2 separate regions of the Homo sapiens genome follow, and region 2 is linked to region 1. The links are contacts of gene promoters, found by promoter capture Hi-C in human tissues and cell types (Jung and others, 2019). All regions are on one chromosome and are shown on one strand. The core of a region is centred on a gene start or on the middle of the fragment in contact, and the rest is flanking DNA. Distances in the headings are between cores, read along the strand shown.

Evidence for each region. The method cuts DNA at HindIII sites, captures the fragments that hold promoters and counts their contacts. A contact is called where the count stands out against the background at its distance.
Region 2: a fragment that was not itself captured here is called in contact with the fragment with the promoter of EIF3A in region 1 in 1 of the 25 tissues and cell types used here (dorsolateral prefrontal cortex).

The regions. Positions count from the first base shown.
Region 1 is chr10:119,079,536-119,082,707 of GRCh38, forward strand. It overlaps EIF3A (eukaryotic translation initiation factor 3 subunit A), which reads right to left and starts at 1,282. Exons shown (of 22, transcript NM_003750.4): 1 at 1,093-1,282. The coding sequence starts at 1,141. RefSeq lists a silencer at 747-1,006 and enhancers at 1,012-1,774, 1,202-1,496. The HindIII fragment of the contact is 11,678 bases long and covers 1-3,172 here.
Region 2 is chr10:118,759,673-118,762,724 of GRCh38, forward strand. No RefSeq gene overlaps it. Among named protein-coding and RNA genes, the nearest start is that of CACUL1, 6.2 kb to the left of the region's middle. The HindIII fragment of the contact is 5,852 bases long and covers 1-3,052 here.

The DNA of each region.
Region 1 (3,172 bases), core at 32-2,531:
AATAAGAGCTATCCATGCCCTAACGATTAGAAAAATTGTCCGGTTAGAGGGGAAAAAAAAAACCCTACACAAAGTTTCTTAAGCCCAGAGCCTAGCCAAGAACATGTGCATCCCCAGAACGCCAATGTAATAAATGCCTTGGAGAGATCGGGGCACACAAGTTTTTCCCTCAAGCGCCAATGGCTGAAGTACACATATAGAAATAGAAATCGCAGACAGCAGCACTGTGGCAGAAAAAAAGAGAAAAAAGGACTGATCTGGATGTCAAGAGACGTTGGTTTTAAGTCTCTTGGCTCAACAACTCCCGGAGTGACCTTGGGGAAACCTCTCTCTAGGCCTGTTTCGTTATCTTTAAGAGGCGACCTGAAGTCCCTTTACATTAACTCTATTCCAACTTCCAGTGATTCGAAACAGGCTTTAGGACTGCTTCTAATCAATGCCAGGAAAAATGAAAAAACAAAAACAAAACAAAACAACAGGAATCAGGTTAAATGGGTCAGAGGCCCCTAAGTGGATATAAAGCAGCTGGGTAAAGGGTAAGTGGACGCCGACCCAGCAAAGCACTGAGCGCGGCTTGGAGAGCGGGGGTGGCTGCGGGAAGGCCGGGGGTGGGTCCGTAGGGCTCCCGGCCCGGGCAGGAGGTGGAGCCGAGGCTCTCGCGTGCATTGTCCCCGGGAGGGAGCCATGTTTCTTACTCCCCGGCACTCCCAGATGGCGGCCGGGGACGCGGGCCCTAAGCAGACCAAAGCCCCAGGGACCTGGAGAGCCAGAGGACGCAGGCAGCAAGGAGGGAGCTCCAGTCCGGGTAGGGGCTGTCTCCCGGGCTGCGGTCCCCGCGACGCACCCGGAGGCGGCAGGGGGAAGGAAAGGCCCCTGGGGCGACGGTTCCGGGCTACGCGCCTCCCAGACCCCAGTCGATAGAGTGAGAAGGAAACCCATGCCCAACCACCGGCTGGGACAGCGGCGGGCAGGCCGCATCGGTCTCCTCTCCCCGCGCGGGCCGGGCGGCGGAGCAGTGGGAAGCAGGCCCGCGCTCTCGACCTCGGAGGCCTCGGGCCGCCCCAGCCCGGCGCGCCCCGATCAGCTACTCACCGTTGGCGCGTTTGAGGGCATTTTCCGGCCTCTGAAAATAGGCCGGCATCTTGGCGGCAGGCTCAGCTCACCCGGCGTCAGCGAACTCTCTAGTGGCCCGGGCCGGGAGAGGAGACGAAGGGGAACCAGCGTAAGGTCCCACGCGCCTCGCCAGCAGTCGCCCGCGCCCAGCCGGCCAGAGACGGAAAGGAAGGAGCCACGTGACCTCCCCGCGGCGGCCCTGCTGCCGCCCAGGCCCCGGATGTAGGGGGCGGGTCTCCGTGCGCGCAAGCGCGCTGGCGTCACGCACGCCGACAGACGTGGCGGCGCCGGAGTCCTAGGCGCGCAAGGTCCAGTTCCCGTCTTGGGCCTGTCCTGGATAGCGTTAGGGAGACAGTTCACAGGCTCTTCAATCTTCGAGCGAGAATTAGGGTGGGAAGGGTGAGTGTGGGGTCAGAGTTTCTGTCTGGAGAACAAGCAAACGTCTGCAGATTGGTTTTCAAAGCGACTTGTGCGGAGTCGTGCAGTTACAGTAAGGTCCCATCCAGCCTGGGAATCGCCTGTCTTGGCTACGTGAAAATGCTGAGTTTAACGAAAACGCAGTGAGCAGGTGTCATCAGGTCAGCGCCGCTCAACCGTGAGAGACAATCATGGGGAAGAGTGACGCCTAAAATAAACAAGCAAGGTTCTTTTATATCTTGGTAAAGTAAAAAGTTTGTGTCACAGGGATTGCCTTGAGAAATGGAGGCTCTCAGAGGGGGCGAATGGGGACAGCGACCTGGCAAAGGGCGAAACGCCCTGGAGCACAGCAGACTTGCTTGGTGTTTGAAAACACACGGAAAGGAGTGTCGTCACTTTTTACATACAGCGCACGTCACAAACAAATTAAGAAAAATTAGTGTTAGTGAAAAAAATCAATCTGAGAGGCCCTTTTATTGTTGCTTAACAATTTTAATGTTCGCAGACGAAGTACTTTACCTAGAATTTGAAAACCATTTGAACCGAATCTAATTCTCAAGCCCTTGGTACGAAATAAAGGTGAGCTCAGAAGGAAAAAAATTTTTTTTTTTTTTGAAACGGAGTCTCGCTTTGTCGCCCAGGCTGGAGTGCAGTGGCACGATCTCGGCTCACTGCAAGCTCCGCCTTCTGGATTCACGCCATTCTCCTGCCTCAGCCTCCCGAGTAGCTGGGACTACAGGCGCCCGCCACTGCGCCCAGCTAATGTTTTGTATTTTTAGTAGAGACGGGGTTTCGCCGTGGTCTCGATCTCCTGACCTCGTGATCCGCCCTCCTCGGCCTCCCAAAGTGCTGGGATTACAGGCGTGAGCCACCGCGCCCAGCCCAGAAGGAAAATTTAGAAGGCAGCAGTGAAATAGATTATTGTCAATGTATTACACATTTAATAGACGAGATATGTGAATTAATGAATGAGGAAATCGGCCGGGCATGGTGGGTCGCGCCTGTAATCCCAGCACTTTGGGTGGCTGGGGCGGGTGGATCACCTGAGGTCAGGAGTTCGAGACCAGCTTGGCCAACATGGCGAAACCCCGTCTCTACTAAAAATACAAAACTTAGGCCTGGCGTGGTGGCTCACGCCTGTAATCCAGGCGCTTTGGGAGGCCGAGGCGGGCGGATCACGAGGTCAGGAGTTCGAGACCAGCCTGACCAAAGTGGTGAAACCCCCCCCCCCGTCTCTACTAAAGTTACAAAAAATTAGCTGGACGTGGTGGCGAACGCCTGTAATCCCAGCTACTCGGGAGGCTGAGACAGGAGAATCGCTTGAACCCGGGAGGCAGAGGTTGCAGTGAGCCTAGATCGTGCCACTGCGCTCCAGCCTGGGTGACAGGGCGAGACTCCGTCTCAAAAAAAAAAAAAATTAGCCGGGCGCTGTGGTGGGCGCCTGTAATCCCAGCTACTCGGGAGGCTGAGACAGGAGAATCGCTTGAACCCGGGAGGCAAAAGTTGCAGTGAGCCAAGATCAGGCCACTGCACTCCAGCCTGGGCGACAGAGGGAGACTCCGTCTCAAAAAAAGAAAAAAAAAAAAAAAGAATGAGAAAACCACAGGATATACACACAAAAAGCATTTCCCCCTCATTACTT
Region 2 (3,052 bases), core at 301-2,800, 320 kb before region 1:
ATACAGAGTGTCAATTGGTGCATTCACAAACCCTGAGCTAGACACAGGGTGCTGATTGGTGTGTTTACAAACCTTGAGCTAGACACAGGGTGCTGATTGGTGTATTTACAATCCCGTAGCTAGACATAAAGTTTCTCCAAGGCCCCACCAGACTAGCTAGATACAGAGTGTTGATTGGTGCATTTACAAACCCTGAGCTAGACACAGGGTGCTGATTGGTGTATATACAATCCCTTTGCTAGACATAAAGGTTCTCCAAGTCCCCACCAGACTAGCTAGATACAGAGTGTGGATTGGTGCATTCACAAACCCTGAGCTAGACACAGGGTGCTGATTGGTGTATTTACAATCCCTTAGCTAGACATAAAGGTTCTCCAAGTCCCCACCAGACTCAGGAGCCCAGCTGGCTTCACCCAGTGGATCCAGCAAGAGGGCTGCAGGTGGAGCTGCCTGCCAGTCCCGCGCCCTGCGCCCACACTCCTCAGCCCTTGGGTGGTCAATGGGACTAGGCGCCGTGGAGCAGAGAGCGGTGCTCGTCTGGGAGGCTGGGGCTGCACAGGAGCCCACGGAGGCGGGGGCAGGCTAAGGCATGACGGGCTGTAGGTCCTGAGCCCTGCCCCGCGGGAAGGCAGCTATGGCCCGGCGAGAAATTGAGCGCAGCGCTGGTGGGCCGGCACTGCTGGGGGACCCACTACACCCTCCGCCGCCGCCAGCCCAGGTGCTAAGCCCCTCACTGCCCGGGGCCGGCGGGGCCCGCTGGCCGCTCCGAGCGCGGGGACCGCCGAGCCCAAGCCTACCCGGAACTCGCGCTGGCCCACAAGCATCACGGGAAGCCCCGGTTCCCGCCCGCGCCTCTCCCTCCACACCTCCCCTCAAGCTGAGGGTGCCGGCTCCGGCCTCGGCCAGCCCAGGAAGGGGCTCCCACAGTGCAGCCGCGGGCTGAAGTGCTCCTCAAGTGCCGCCAAAGTGGGAGCCCAGGCAGAGGATGTGCGGAGAGCGAGCGAGGACTGTGAGGGCTGCCAGCACGCTGTCACCTCTCACCAGCTACTTGGGAGGCTGAGGCAGAAGAATCACTTGAACCTGGGAGACGGAGGTTGCAGTAAGCCGAGATCATGCCGCTGCACTCCAGCCTGGGAGACAGAGTGACACTCCATCTTAAAAAAAAATAAAAATAAAAGACATAACCCATGTTTGTTTAATTATGAAATGCCATGTGGCCAATTGTCTAAAATAGTTAAAACATTGGGGGGGGGTGGGCTACAGAGACTTGGTCACTAAGAATTAGTCTTTGTACGGCTTTAAATACATTGTCACTTTCCCAAACAATATTTATTTGTAATTGTTCAATACTTTTTAATGAATAAGTGTATGACTAGCTTAAATCTACTTGAAATCCTATTTTATATCAAAAGACGTTTTTCTTTTTGAGATAAGGTCTTGCTCCGTTGCCCAGGCTGGAGTGCAGTGGCATGATCATGGCTCACTGCAGTTTTGACCCCCCAGGCTCAAGCGATCCTTCCACCTCAGCCTCTCAAGTAGCTGGGACTACAGGTGTGCACCACCATGCCCAGCTAAGTTTTGTAACTTTTGTAGAGATGAAGTTTCACCACGTTGCCCAGGCTGGTCTCAAACTCCTGGGCTCACCTTGTCCTCTCAAAGTGCTGGTATTACAGGTGTGGCCCATGGTACCTGGCTGAAAAGACTTTTCTTCTTTGGTCAACTCTGACAGCATAGCATGTACTATGCGATACATTAGTCCCTGAGAGAAAGTATTATTGCAATTTTTACATCTTTTCATCTATCATACCAACCTGGCATTTGTGGCATTGTTAGTAAAGGATGAAATTGCTCAGAAGTGAATAAGAGGAAAGAAGAGGAGAAAAAATATATGAGAAAAATCCAAAAATTATACATGCCTCTTCTAAGTAGTCAAGAACTCATTGAATCAGAAAAGACTGTAGTAGACAACATACAGACATATAGGTGTTTTCTCTTAATTGCTATTCATTTTAAATGGACTATTAATTACACAAAGGAATTAGCATGGAAAACATAAAAATTCAACTTTGATGGAGATAAACTATATTAGGATAAAGAAGAATGAATACTTGTGTTTAATCCCTAGGAGATTAGAATTGTACCAATACAGCATTGACAAAGAAATAATTTGTGAATGCATAATGCAGTTGGAAGTCTAACTGCAAAGCTATTGGAGTGATCTTGATTAGAAGGTAAGAGGATTATTGCCGTGTAAACTCAAGCCTCAACAGTTGCACACTGAGATTACTGATTACAGTGAAGATGGGTAGCCACTCGGGGGAGTATTCTGTATTCAGTATTTCTTTCCATGTTCAATTTTATTCCTTCCTTTTACATCTTAGCATCTGAATTCTAAATTCCATCCTAGCAGGGAAACAGAGGAAATGATGCAGATTCTCTCATAAGCCTGATGAATTTAGGAGCTGAAGGAAATGACTTGAGGCTGAAGGAGGTTGGGGGAAAACAAGCAGGCAAGAGACGGGGAGTTATGTCGACACTTCATTGCAGGCCTGTCCCTTTCACTCAGTCATTCACCAATATTTCTGTGTTCAGGTACTGTGCGGGGGCTATAAGAGTAAACAGATAGCTGGGTGCATGGCTCACGCCTGTAAACCCAACACTTTGAGAGCCTGAGGCAGGAGGATCACTTGAGCCCAGGAGTTCAAGACCAGTTTGGGCAACATGGTGAAACCCTGTCTCTGTGAAAAATACAAAAATTAGCTGGGCATGGTGGAGTGTTCCTGTAGTCCCAGCTACTCAGGAGACTGAGGTGGGAGGATCACTTGAGTTCAGAGGGGGAGGCTGCAGTGAGCCAAGATCACACCACTGCACTGCAGCCTGGGTGACAGAGTGAGACCTGTCTCAAAAAAAAAAAAAAAAAAAGTAAACAGACAAAAAGCACTCTGCTCCTCATGGAGTTTCCATTCCATGAGGGTATCAAGCACTAAACAACCACATGAGCCAAAGCATGACAAACGCTAGGAAAGAATGCCATGACTGGGCATTACTGAGA